Regions from separate parts of the Homo sapiens genome. Here all the other regions are linked to region 1. Evidence: promoter capture Hi-C in 16 types of primary human blood cells and fetal thymus (Javierre and others, 2016). All regions are on one chromosome and are shown on one strand. The core of a region is centred on a gene start or on the middle of the fragment in contact, and the rest is flanking DNA. Distances in the headings are between cores, read along the strand shown.

Region 1 (4,513 bases), core at 1,181-3,680:
AACAACAATAAACCACTTTGCACATAGCAGTTTCCAGAACAGAAATAGAGTGATATACAAGAAGGCCCAAACTGAAGCTGAATTCCCCAGCACGGAAAGTTTCCCCAGAAGGTGGCCTAAAATCAACAAAACTCACTGAGATACCTTCTTAGGCCCAATGAAGATCTGAATCATCTCCATATCAAACCAGGTTCCAGACACCTGATCCCATGATTTTTTTCTCAGTAGGGGAAAGAACTGACAGGGACTGGGATACTATGAACTGCCTTGGAACCGAGGTCATGCATATATTGCCCCTGGACAATAATCACAGAGTTTTCTATAGTCAGGCCTTAAACACCATCCTCGAGACTTGGCCAGACAGCAGCACTGACCTACTTTCCACCCCCACTGGGAATCAGGGGTTATCTTGCCCTTATTTGGATTCTATAAGGATGCGGGGCCAGGGATAGATATCAGAAACCTTTCAAAAGCAGTAGGCCAATTATCCTTACATGCTGGGGCAGCTGGTAGGGAAGTGGGTGTGGACCACTAAACCTTACTCAGTAGAGAAGGATGGAATGGTTGGTGAAAAGACTTAGAAACAACAAGGACAGGTACATAGAAGTATTTGCTAAATGGACCACAAAGACTGTCCCTCAAGTCTTGTGATTCAAAAGTTTTTAGGGTCAAAGTGTAAGGAGCAAGGGTTCAGGACTTCTGGGGTCCAGTTGTAACTGCCTCTGGTCACCTCTAACACGATGGTTTTCCCTCTTGAGAATCCTAGACCTCCCAAATCTGCTAACAATTATGATTACCACTGCACTAGATGGGGTTAAAAGGAAAGGGAGCTTCTAGGGCGGTCTACGTTCAAAAGACTACCTTGATCACACAGACACACCAGTAGTTCACTTTTATGGTCTCCTCTCCATGGCCCTCTGAACCTCACTGCTCAGATAGCTCCTCCTAACCCGCTCCACTCTGCAGCTCACCAGCCTTTTTAGACTGAGATCTTGGTAAAGCCTCCTTCCCTCTGTCCTCACTCTCCTGAGTTAGGGACATGGAACCTCAGCCATGGACTTCAAAGGTACAGCAGGAGGCGAGAGGAAGGCACACCTGCTCACCTGCTGCCATCCCACCATGGGGAATCTTATCCCAGAGGCATGTCCTAACGCAACCCCGATTTTGATTTTGAAAGTTCTGGAAGACCTGGGTTTGGGAAAGAGGGGCATGTAGCCAGCCCTAAGTCCCTTTAAGTGGAGCTGACCCTAGAAAAGTCAGTCTTAGCACCCACGTGAGCCTCGGTCCTCAGACTGGGAGGTAGGGGCGATCAAGGGAGCCTCTGGGAAAATCCCCCTCCCAGAAATAGATTGCTAAGTAGGGTAGGACCTGCTATCCTGCCGGAGAGGTTTTTCCAGCAGCACCCCAGACCCCTCCCCAGGAAGATAAGCCAGAAGGATGATGGGGGGCAGGGTTGGGAGATAGGGAGGCCAAGGCTCAGCTACCCCCGGCCAGGAGAACAAAAGCTGAGTTACAGCCGCCTCCGCTGCTGCCGCGGGCCGAGCTCTTTGTGACACTTTGTTTGGGACGCAAAGAGGGAAGCACCCCCCATCCTTTCCCCTCCCCCGCCACCCCGTGCTTCCAGAGAGTTTGGGCTCCTTCCCCCTCCCCCACCAGCCCTACCTGGGCCGGGGGTTGGGGGGTGCACATCCACTCAGGCTCGCGGCTCTGCCGCCCCTCACCCCCAGGTCCCTCGCGCCCTGCCTTCGGGCCCCTACAAAGACACCCGCCACCTCCCCCGCCACATCCCCCCCGTTGGCCCTTCCCTTTGGTGTCTGCTCCCCCAGCTCTTCCACCTGGCCCCCCCTCCCTTGGGGCCCCCCAGCTCTCCAGGCTTCCGAGGCCGCCACCCCCACCCCGCCCCCCCAGGAGCTCTGGGCGAAGTTTGCTTGGGGCCGAGCCGGCGCCCCTCCCCCGCCCCCGCCCCCTGCACCTGCTCCGAGCCGGGCGCGCTGAGCGGGCCCCCCCTCCGGGAGGGGGGAGGGGGCCGGGGGCGGGGGCCGGGTGGCGGACGGGGGGGCCCGGGAGTCGGGGGAGCGGCTACTCACGAGCCCCGGGCGGGCGGCGGCGGAGCGGGCGGCGGCGGCGGCGGCGGCGGCGGGCGGCGGGCCGGCGGCGCGGGCGTCAGCGTTACGTGGGGCCGGGGGAGATGCGCCGGGCCCCGGCCCCCCCGCCCCCGGCCCGGCCCCCGCCCCCTCCCCGGTCCCCCGCCCCCGGCCCTGGCCCGCATTGTGTGCGGCGGGAGGCGGCCCGGCCATTAGCATGCGGGGGGCGGCGCGGCGGGGCTGGGAGCCGCGCGGGAGCCGGGCTCTGGCTCCGGGGACAGGGAGCTGGGGACCCCGGGAGCCGCGAGAGGCGGCCGCCAGGGGCGGGGTGCGGGCGGTTTGGAGACGGGGGGCGCTGTCGGAGGGAGGGAGGAAGGGAGGGAGCGGGGGTGGGGCGCACAGAGGATTCCAACAGGAGACTGGAAGAGATTTTGAAAGGTCATCTCGTCCTTCCCCCAGCCTCCAAGCAGCACTGCCCCTCCCTCCCTAAACCCGGACATACCAGGGAAGGAGTTGGCTCTGCCGCTCTTTCTGCCCCAACATGCACAGACTCGGGAAGTTCTTCCTGGGGTTTTATCTCAAAGCCTCTCCCTTACAATTTCTGTCTCTCTTTTGGGGGAGGAGGAGGGGCGATTATAGAGATAGTTAATGTCGGCCGTATAAGAAACATTATTAAAGTTACTCTTCGGTCCTTTCCGTTCTTGATAAACAATTCCTGCGCCTTCCTCTCGAATTCTATTTTCCATTCCTCAAGTCACTTTAATGGCTCTTCAATACAACAAATATTTACTGAGTGCTTACTAAGTGCCAGGCACTGGGCTCAGCGCTGTGAGGGATGAGAAAGAAGTGGTACCTTCCTTCCAGGCGATTGTAGTCTAGACTACAAACTGGTAAGTAGTATACTCAGATTTAGTCAATATTTACTGAATGCCTGTTCACCTATCTAATAGTATATAATCTTTCCAATAACCCTCTATAATTAAATTAGCCCCCATTTACAAGTAAGAAAAATGAGGCTTCAGGAAGTCTGTTTCCCCAGTGGCCTGCAGGCTCGGGGATCCTCAGTGCAAGCCCAACATCTCACATCGCCACCAAATAAAATCAATGCACGTGGGAATTGAGGAGGAGTAGACACACAGCAGTTTTCTGGATCTCTTTAAAACGTGACTCCCACTCCCCGGGAAAGAAAAGAGTAGATACAATGACCCGCCGATGTTGGCACAGCACTGATGGGGCAGGAGTGGCTTACAAAAGATCACTTGCCTCCCAGGACCCTGCCTCCCTCCTCGTACTAACTTCTAGAGTCTTCTGGCGCAGTCTCCTCTTATCGTCAACAACAAGAAATAATAATAGTGATGATGATCATAGCCACTAACATTGAGCACTTGTGTACCAGGTACTGGGCTAAGCTCTCTTCCATGCTGAAAGCAACCCCTTGAGACTGGTATTATTAACTTCCTTTTATAGATAAGGGAACAGAGAGATTAAGCAACTTGCCAAGGGCACCTAGGTAGATCTGGGATTTGTTTTGATCTATAGAGTATATTTGGGCCCAGCTGGTTCTGCTTCCGACTGTAGAAATGTGTCCCCAGCTTCCTTCTGAATAACACTTTTAGTGTATGGGCATCAGACTTATCGGTGTGACCTCATCAGCACCACTAATAGTTATTAAACACCCACCCTGAATCAACAACTCTTCACAGTCATATTGTTAGCCCCCTTTTATCAGTGAATAAACTGAGGTGCGAATAGGTAGAAAAACATATCTATCAGGACAGACACAGTGGCCCACACCTGTAATCCCAGCAGTTTGGGAGGCCAAGCAGGGAGGATGGCTTGAGCCCAGGAGTTTGAGACCAGCTTAGGCAACATTGTGAGACGACCCTGTCTCTACAAAAAATTTAAAAATTAGCCAGGCATGGTGGCATGTGCCTGTGATCCCAGCTACTTGGGAGACTGAGGCAGGATGATTATTTGTGCCCAGAAGGTGTTGGCTACAGTGAGCCATGATCATGCCACTGCACTCCAGCCTGGGTGACAGTGAGCCCCTGTCTCAATAATATAATAATAATAATAATAATAATGTATCCAAGATCACACAGATGGAGAAGCAGCAGAGCTAAGATTCCAGCTCAGGTCTGTCTGGCTATGAGGCACCTTCTCTCTCAAAAATATTAATTGTTGCAATAGCATCCTTCCCAAGACTCACTATTTGAGGACCATGAGATAGATAGATAGATAGATAGATAATGTCCAGTTGCAGGTTATCATTGAATCAAAAACAATCCCCACCATAAACAGGGTCCCCCCCATCCATTGAGTCAGTGTTCAGTTCAGAGTAAAACCTTCAAGAAAGAAGGAAGGGAGACTGTCCAGAAAGTGAGAGGCAAGAAAGCCCCTGGAATTCAACCTTACCTGGTCTGGGGGCA
Region 2 (4,513 bases), core at 1,236-3,735, 770 kb before region 1:
TCACCACCCGTTTAGTAATTGTTTGACTCCGCAAAAATCAGAAGGCACTAACGGACAGCCAGCCCATCCTCATGGTGCCCTGAGTGAAGATAAGCCATTTTTGATATATGATGGATCAAAATCCCACTGCCTAAGGCTTCAAGCAGTGAGAGGAACAGCCATCAAAGTTTAACTCCAACCACATTAATTTAAGAAACGTTTATAAAAAATAAAGACATCCCAACCTGGGCAACATGGCAAAACCCCATCTCTACAAAAAAATACAAAAAATTAGCCAGGCATGGTGGCCTGTGGTCCCAGCTACTTGGGAGCCTGAGGTGAGAGAATCACCCGAGGCTGGGAAGCCAGGGCTGCAGTGAGCCCTGATTATGCCACTGCACTCCAGCCTGGGCAATGGAATGAGTCCCTGTCTCAAAAAAAAAAAAATGAAGACATCAAGAGACTCTTATAAGATAGGAATCATTACATCTAAGTAAGAACTAGAGGCCGGGCGTGGTGGCTCACGCCTATAATCCCAGCACTTTGGGAGGCCGAGGCGGGTGGATCATGAGGTCAGAAGATCGAGACCACGGTGAAACCCCGTCTCTACTAAAAATACAAAAAAAATTAGCCAGGCGTGGTGGCGGGCGCCTGTATTCCCAGCTACTCAGGAGGCTGAGGCAGGAGAATGGCGTGAACCTGGGAGGCGGAGCTTGCAGTGAGCCCAGATCGTGCCACTGCACTCCAGCCTGGGCGACAGAGCGAGACTCCGTCTCAAAAAAAAAAAAAAAAAAAAAAAGTAAGAACTAGAAGAGATCATTAAGGATCAACTGATCCAGCAAGGGAAAATGAGGAACTAGATAACAAGTTAGTACCAAAATCAAGATTAACCAACTAAAGAAAATGTTATTCCAACAATTATATAAAGATACACATTATAGTGCCTATGACTAATTCTAGAACTTAATTAAGTTTTGAGGGGCGGGGTGAAGGTAATGAGGGGTAGTCTAATTAACAGAAAGATATATGAGCAATAAAAACAAAGAATTTCCTCTTTTTTTCTGAGACGAAGTCTAGCTCTGTCACCCAAGCTGGAGTGCAGTGGTGCGATCTCAGCTCACCACAACCTCTGCCTCCCAGATTCAAGCGATTCTCCTGCCTCAGCCTCCCAAGTAGCTGGGATTACAGGTGCACGCCACCACACCCAGCTAATTTTTGTATTTTTGGTAGAAACGAGGTTTCACCATGTTAGCCAGGCTGGTCTTGAACTCCTGACCTTAGGTGATCTGCCCACCTCGCCTCCCAAAGTGCTGGGTTTACAGGCATGAGCCACCACGTCAGGCCAAAACAAAGAATTTTCGTCAATCTATTATGCAGATGTCAAAAATTGCCAGGTAGTACAGAATCTAAGAGAAATATACGCATGGATTCTGATGACAAATAGTTAACATCAAACTGAGCATTTACCGTATGCTTTACCCACACCCTTACTAATTTAATCTTCAAAATAACCACCCTGAGTCAAATACTATTGCCATCCTCTAAAATATAAAACTAAGACATAGATATTAGGAAACTTGCCAATGCTGCATAACTGGTGAAGTGATAGAGCATGCGTTTGAACTCAGTCTGACTCCAGAACCCATATATATACTATACAATGCTACTTCTCAACATCTTTAATTGACTCTTTTTTTTGGAGACGGAATCTCCCTATCACCCAGGCTGGAGTATAGTTGCGCTCTCTCTGCTTACTAAAACTTCCACCTCCTGGGTTCAAGCCTCAGCCTCCTGAGTAGCTGGGACTACAGGCGCACACCACCAGGCCCAGATAATTTTTTGTATTTTTTTAGTAGAGATGGGGTTTTGCCATGTTGGCCAGTCTGGTCTCAAACTCCTGAGCTCAGACAATCCACCCACCTCGGCCTCCCAAAGTGCTAGGATTACAGGTGTGAGCCACCACGCCTGGCCTCAACTGACTTTTAAAAAGTGAAATTTAGCCGGGCGCGGTGGCTCACGCCTGTAATCCCAGCACTTTGGGAGGCCGAGGCGGGCGGATCACGAGGTCAGGAGATCGAGACCATCCCGGCTAAAACGGTGAAACCCCGTCTCTACTAAAAATACAAAAAATTAGCCGGGCGTAGTGGCGGGCAACTGTAGTCCCAGCTACTTGGGAGGCTGAGGCAGGAGAATGGCGTGAACCCGGGAGGCGGAGCTTGCAGTGAGCCGAGATCCCGCCACTGCACTCCAGCCTGGGCGACAGAGCAAGACTCCGTCTCAAAAAAAAAAAAAAAGTGAAATTTATAGCACCTTAGCAGCTGGCCATGAAGTCACAAACCTGAATTTTCAAAGACTCATATATATGGCAAAGCTTCTCAATCTCAACGTAAGCCTTACCATAAAAGAAAAACGCAGTACTCATCTACAGTATATCCAGGATTTACAGCACCAAAGAGGTCCAGACTGGAACAGCGAAACTCAGATCTGGTTTCAGTCTCTTGAAATTTTACTCCTGCAAAAGACAACAAAAGCTAAAAAATTATTTCAAGTCCTGATGTTACTTTGAGTTGTTTGTATTTCCTGTATTTCACCCTTCTTTCTACCTAATTCTCTGCTGAAAATGCAGGCACGGGTAAAGAATATAAGCTTGTCCTAAGTTACCTAAAATAACTTTTAAAATATTACAATACATGAATACAATAAAATTAGAAAATAGGTTTATAATAATAAAAGATTACTTGTAGAACCCAATTCTAGAGAAAATAACCCCCTAGTATTTTAGTATATATGTCCTTTCAGTTTTCTTAAGCAAACATATGCATATAAAAATATTTAAGCAGAAACATATTGCTCTATATAATCTGTTTTTCATGTGTCATGAATACCGTTCTATTTCAATAAACATAAAACTGTATCATAACTTTTAAGTGATTCTATAGTGTTGTACCGTATAGTCTTCACAAAATTGATTTAACCAACTCTGTGTTTCCTTTAATCTACATGTATAGATTGATAAAATAATGATTAGTTTAAAACTGCCAGGCTAAATTGCCTATAGAATTATACCAGTTGCCAGTGCTTTTTCTGTAGTGTTTGAACTTTTAGATTAATGATTCCTGACCCTAGTTCTAACTCACAAAAGTGATTTTTTGGGGATATAGAGATATCACAAAAGATCAAAGCACAACAAAACATTAGTCTCAAATTCATAATTTATTAAGATTTAAGAATTACCTGGGATTACAGACTAAATCCCAGTATGAATTCCAACAAGCAGAATTCAATTGCAGGTGTTTGCCCCTAGCTTTAGTCTGCTCAGAGCATGTGTTTAATCAGGCTGATCAGCTGAAACACGGACTTAACATGCATTTCATCATGGCAAACTGTAAATGACTGAGGAAGGGCAAACCAGCACTGGCTCCTCATCCCTAAACAGGAAAATTCTCCTAAGGTTAGAACTGGGGATTTTTTTTAATTACCAAATTCCATCCACTAATAACACCGAGTCCCAAGTCTTGCTAAGTGATTAGAAATCCAAATGAGGTAAAAACGAAGATTTTGCTCTTACTCTTACCTCTGGCATCACATGAATCCAGCTTCTATCTAGAAATCCAGTTGAACCACAGGATCTATCAATTATCTAGGATCATTTCTGGAAAATTTAAAAAACATAAATAAATTCACAAAGGTTATGATTACATGACAACTCACACCAGCATGTTCTATACCAAGTCACAAGAAAATTTAGAGTAACCGTTCATCCTTTATTTAACTCTCCATTCATTAATATAAATTATTGACTCATCTATTTGGAGAATGTCACCAAATGCCCAAGCTCAATATCAAATAGGGCAGGATCAGGAGTTCAAGGTTACAGTGAGCTGTGATCGTGCCACTGTACTCCAGCCTAGGCAACAGAGTAAGACCCCGTCTCGAACAAAACAAAAAAAATTTAACAACAACAACAAAAAAAAACCGAGCAGGACCCCTACACAAGCTTAATTTTGTATAAATTTACAAGCTTGGATAAAACTGCACAATAGTCTAACCAACTTCTGAAAGGCTATAAAGGTCAACAACCTCACAGTAAGAAAACAGTTATGCAAGAGGAAGGAGTCAAGAACTTTTAAGATTCAGATAACTGAGAAAATAATCCAAAATAGTCAGTTTTTTCAAAGCATGTTTCAATTTCATTTGAGCCAATGCCGGATTGTATTTAACCTTTACTCTTCGTAATCCTTTGTCAAAATAATCTGAAGAAAATCTTCCCTTTATATAGGAAAATTGAATTAGTAACATTTGTAACCCAAGTCTGCCACAAGATGGCAGTGTAAGAAAGAGTCTTGCTTTAATTTCCTCTTCCAGCATTTGCGTGTCATCTGAACTTTCAGGTCAAATACATACTAGATACGCAGTTCATCTTTGCAGGCAACCTTCACACTATTCCCTACTCTTCACCTAATTACTAGCTAGAAAATTTTTTGTATTTACTTGTAATGATCATCTAAAACTTGTTAGCTAAAAATACTGCAGT
Region 3 (4,513 bases), core at 1-2,500, 670 kb before region 1:
CTTCCTGAGCAGAGTTCACTGCTCTATCCTCTGGGCTCTCGCAAGACTCGTCCATACATGTAAGTCCACTCAAAATTTGTATTTGTTTATGTCTATCTGCTGGTCAGGAGCTCTCTGACCTCTGTATCTTGGTGCCTCCTACAGTGCCTGCCACACAGTAGGTAATTAATAACTGTGTGAGGGAGAAAGAAGAGAAAGAAAAAAGAGAGGCAGTGGGGAGAGCAGGATGGGGGAAGAGAGAAAGAGGAAGCACCTGACTACCTTCCCTGGCCAAGATAAAGGGAAATGGATTTAAAAATAACTCTGGGGGAAAGGAACTGAAAGGGGGAAATGACTTTTCTGAGTCTTGTCTGCTTCTCACTCTTCTCTCCCCCCACATCCTCTCACCACTTGAGACCTCAGGCAACAACGGTCTCATTTTCACTCCTGATTCCTCAGTTTGCCCAAAAGAAAGAAGGCACACAGGCTTCTGACTTCTTCCACCCCATCTCCTTAAACCTCAGATCATCTGTTTTTCCACTGTGGGCCTCTCCCTCCTTGGCCTCTGCCCCCATCATCTTTCCCACACAACACTCCTGCCACATGGCCCTGGGGGGCCCGTCAGGCCTCTCAGGCCCCTGTGCCGTGCATGTCCATGTGGGAGCTTCTGCCTCAGAAGGAAACCAAGAGGTTCTCAGGGGCAGCCTGTGGTGTCTCGCTGGGAAACGCTAGACCAGGCCTACAAAGTTACCCGGGAGAGAATATTGTTAAGAAGGTTTAGGCATCCCAGGGGTGGGAGAGGAGAAAGGAGCAAGTTCCAGGAAAAAAAGGGCTGAACGATTTACAGTCCTTACTCCTACACTCCTCAAACTCTTTCATGGATGGCCATTCCACATTTTTCCCATGATCCATGGGTCAGAACCATTTTTCCAACTGTCCTCCCATGGTCTCTACACTTTGGCTACTGAAGCTTCTTAACTCTCTTTCAAACTAGATGCCCTTTCCCTAAGAATCCCTAAGCCTTGTGGAGTTGCTCCCGAGTCTCCTTTCCTCACCTGGGTATTCAGCTGCCTCCCCTTTCCCTATATGTTTTCCCTAGGAGTTCTGGAACCACCATTTCCTCAACGGAGATCATACGTACAAAAGCAGTTTACAATGCACAGTGTGAGAATAAAATACTACCAAGAATAAAGCCTCTTTTCACTCCCCACAATCTCTGTCCTTCTCTCAGGCTATTTCTTATGCCCTCCTCTCCCCATACACTGTTGCTCCCTCTTCACCCAGCAGGTTTGGTTTGGTGTGGGGTGGGAACCAAAGCTATGTGCTGCACAGCGGGCAGTGTCAGGATGCAGGCAGGCATCTCAGCCCGAGGCCTTGGCAGAGTTCCCAGGCAGAGCCATCGGCCCAGGCCAGGACAGTAGGCATGGATAAGGTGAGAGAGGGCATAAGTACGGTGACTGTAGCCCCCGAGCACCAGTAGCTCCCCCTGCAGCACAGCACTTGCAGCCCCCACATGGGGGGAGGGTAGGGGTGCCAGGTGAGTCCAGCTATCAGTCCTTAGTTCATAGGCCTCAAAGCTTAGCAGGTCCTCAGTCTCACCCAGCCCACCTGCCACATACAACCTCCCACCCAATGCAGCCATGACATGGCCAGCCCGAGGTACCCCCATAGGGCTCAGAAACGTCCCTGGCTTCTCAAGTTTGGGGTCATAGTGCATCAGTGAGGCCAGGTATTGGCCAGTCCCACCACAGCCACCGCTCACGTACAACTGGCCCTCCAAAATCGCAGCTGCGTGGGCAAAACATGGTGCTGGAAGTGCAGGTGCTGGCCTAAGGGAGAACAGGACACAAGATAAGGCAACTAGCATCTTCAACTCTCCTTCTATTCCAAGTCTCCTAATCTCTCCCAGATGCCCCCTTGCCTGCTTACCTCCAGACATTGAGCTCAGGGTTGTAGGTCTCCACAGAGTCCAGGGCAACATCATTGTGTCTTCCACCCAGGGCATAAAGTTTTCCATCCAGTGCCACCAAGGAGAAAAGGCTTCGAGCCTGGGACAAAGGAGCCATCTCCTCCCAGTCCTCTTGACTGGGCTCCCACCTGGACACAGTAGGACAAGAGATTGGAAGAGGGACTCTGGGCATCCGTGGTTGGCTAGGCCAGCAATTTCTCTCCCTGCCCACCTTAGGGCCTGCCACACCCTGCCCACTCCTAGAAGCTTATACCTGAGAGTTGAAGCCAGGGTGTTGGAGTGACTGTAGAAATCTTGTCCCCCACACACATAGAGTTCACTTCCTGCCAGGCTTGCAGCCCCATGCCGGAAGCGTCCGGGGGCAGGCAGGGCAGGCAGCTGCCCCCACTCAACAGTTCGTACCAGTCCCACGCCACAGCGGAAGGCCCGGGCCCACCACACTGCTCGGGATGGTTGTCTTAGGGCCATGTCTGGTCTGAGCCCATCCCCGCCAATCACTACCAGTGCCCGGTCAGGCTCCCTCCGTCTCTCTTGGCCTGGAACATCAGCCTCTACCATCAGCTGGTGCAACAGATCTGGGGTCAGGGGTGGAAGTAGCCCGGCTGCCCGCACCCTCCGCAACTCCCTGGTGGACATGCGGCCAAAGCGGACACATCGCAGCAGGGCCTTGGCCTCTGACTCCTGGGTCTCGGGGTTGGCAGCCAGCCAACACCGTGCAGCCACAAAGGCCTCAAACTCCTCCTGCACATGGAGCTCATCACTATCCAGGAGCTCAGCCAAGCAGGCAGCTGGTAAAGAAGGGAAAGCAGGACACAAGGCTACAGCAGGCAGGTGGGTGAGGAGGTAGTGACGGGCTTTGCTCCAGAGCCTCTCCAACCCAGGGGCTTCCGCCATGGGGAACAGGGCCAGGCAACGGGCAGGGCTGAGGCCCCGTGCCAAGCCTTTCTGACACAAATCCAAGCAGGAAGAGCTCTGGTACTGCAGAGCAGCCTGGGCAGCTCTCAGTAGCCCTGGCCACCTTGCCCGCACAACTCCGGAGTAAGCAAAAGAGACGAGGAGTCGCAGGTCCTGGGTGGAGATCGTCCGCAGAGATACCTCTGTGCCCTGGGATTCCCTCATCCCGCTCAGGAGCATGGCCCCAAAGAACTCACTGCCACAGGCCAGGGCGGCTCGGTGCACTGCAGGAGGGGAGAAGGAATAGAGGAGGACTCAAAGTATTGCAAGACCGATAGGCATTACCCCAACTTGGTACTCTAAGTTTGGCCAAACTCTAAGTTTGGCCCTCCAAGCCACCCACTGCTACAGACCAAACTGTGGTGTGCATCAGAATACCATGGGGTAGTTGTTAAAATGCAGGTTTCAGCAGTCCACTCCCAGAGATTCTGATTCAGCAGTTCTGGACGGAGACCCTAGAAATTTGTATTGTAACACTTCAAGTAACCCTATGTGATTCTCATGTTAGTGGCCTGAAGACACTTAGATAAACATTGCTTTAGTCTTTTTGGTCAGATGAGTCAGAAAAAGAGTCTTCATGGATCAGGTTGAGAGGAAAGCATTTGCTAAGAGGAGCACAAAATAAATGGGAAATGACCAACAAGCAACTTATATAGGTCTGTCTATATCGTGACAAAATAAAATTCTTTACAATCAAGAGCCAAGACTGTCAGCCATTCTGTTAGATTTTGCTGGGAAAGTGGCACCACTCGGGAATGGCTGTAATCCAACCTCATCGGATTGCTGTCTCCTCTTGCCTAAGATTTAGTGTTTAATGTTTTCCGTGCGTCCCAGCTTTTCTCTGCATAACCCTCTCCTGTTCTTGGTGTAATTTGTAGAATCATGAGATCTGAAACTTGAGAACTTCAAAATAATCTAATTCAATTATTCCCTTTAAAATAAGGAAACTGGTTGGGTGTCGTGGCACACACCTGTAATCCCAGCACTTTGGGAGGCTGAGGTGGGTAGGATCACTTGAGGTCAGGAGTTCAAGGCCAGCCTGGCCAACATGGTGAAACTCCATCTCTACCAAAAATACAAACATTAGCCGGGCATGGTGGCAGGCGCCTGTAATCCCAGCTACTTGGAGACTGAGGCAGGAGAATAGCTTGAACCTGGGAGGCGAGGGTTGCAATGAGCTGAGACTGCGCCGCTGCACCCAGCCTGGGTGACAGAGCGAGACTCCATCTCAAAATAAATAAATAAATAAAATGTGGAAACTGAGTTGGGTCCCAAAGAAAGCATGTGATTTATTTTTCATTTCCATGCAGTGGCTGTGTGGGCAGATCATCTCCATCCACTGCCACTGATGTCAGGCTGCAATAAGCATGCTTGTGTACCAATACCTTGGTTATCTGCATGGTCCTCATGACAATGAAACTGTCCTATTAACCTACGCTGTTAAACAATTAGACCTCATACTCAGCATCACTTATGGATTATTCTGGCCAAAATATTTAACTTGAATCTGTTCAACTCTTTAGATCTAAAGTCAAGTTTATAGGAAGTTGAAAGGCTAAAGGAACAATTTAGAGGGGAAAAACCACACAAATCAAGAAAATGGAGCATTTT

The links. The method cuts DNA at HindIII sites, captures the fragments that hold promoters and counts their contacts. A CHiCAGO score of 5 or more calls a contact.
Region 2: a contact is called between a fragment that was not itself captured here and the fragment with the promoter of ZNF219 in region 1, in 1 of 17 cell types (total B cells). The highest score is 5.4, in total B cells.
Region 3: a contact is called between a fragment that was not itself captured here and the fragment with the promoter of ZNF219 in region 1, in 1 of 17 cell types (monocytes). The highest score is 6.3, in monocytes.

Annotation. Positions count from the first base shown.
Region 1 is chr14:21,096,225-21,100,737 of GRCh38, forward strand. ZNF219 (zinc finger protein 219) reads right to left here and starts at 2,431. Exons shown (of 5, transcript NM_016423.3): 1 at 2,088-2,431. It also overlaps a transcript of TMEM253 not described here. RefSeq lists enhancers at 852-1,353, 2,113-2,613. The HindIII fragment of the contact is 7,101 bases long and covers 1-4,513 here.
Region 2 is chr14:20,323,163-20,327,675 of GRCh38, forward strand. CCNB1IP1 (cyclin B1 interacting protein 1) reads right to left here. Exons shown (of 7, transcript NM_021178.5): 3 at 3,554-3,631; 4 at 2,377-2,491. SNORD126 (small nucleolar RNA, C/D box 126) reads right to left here and starts at 3,377; the gene lies at 3,279-3,377. SNORA79B (small nucleolar RNA, H/ACA box 79B) reads right to left here and starts at 164; the gene lies at 17-164. The HindIII fragment of the contact is 275 bases long and covers 2,349-2,623 here.
Region 3 is chr14:20,427,594-20,432,106 of GRCh38, forward strand. It overlaps KLHL33 (kelch like family member 33), which reads right to left. Exons shown (of 5, transcript NM_001365790.2): 3 at 2,202-3,126; 4 at 1,909-2,076; 5 at 1-1,808. The coding sequence ends at 1,256. Among named protein-coding and RNA genes, the nearest start is that of KLHL33, 6.3 kb to the right of the region's middle. RefSeq lists an enhancer at 1,401-2,033. The HindIII fragment of the contact is 607 bases long and covers 948-1,554 here.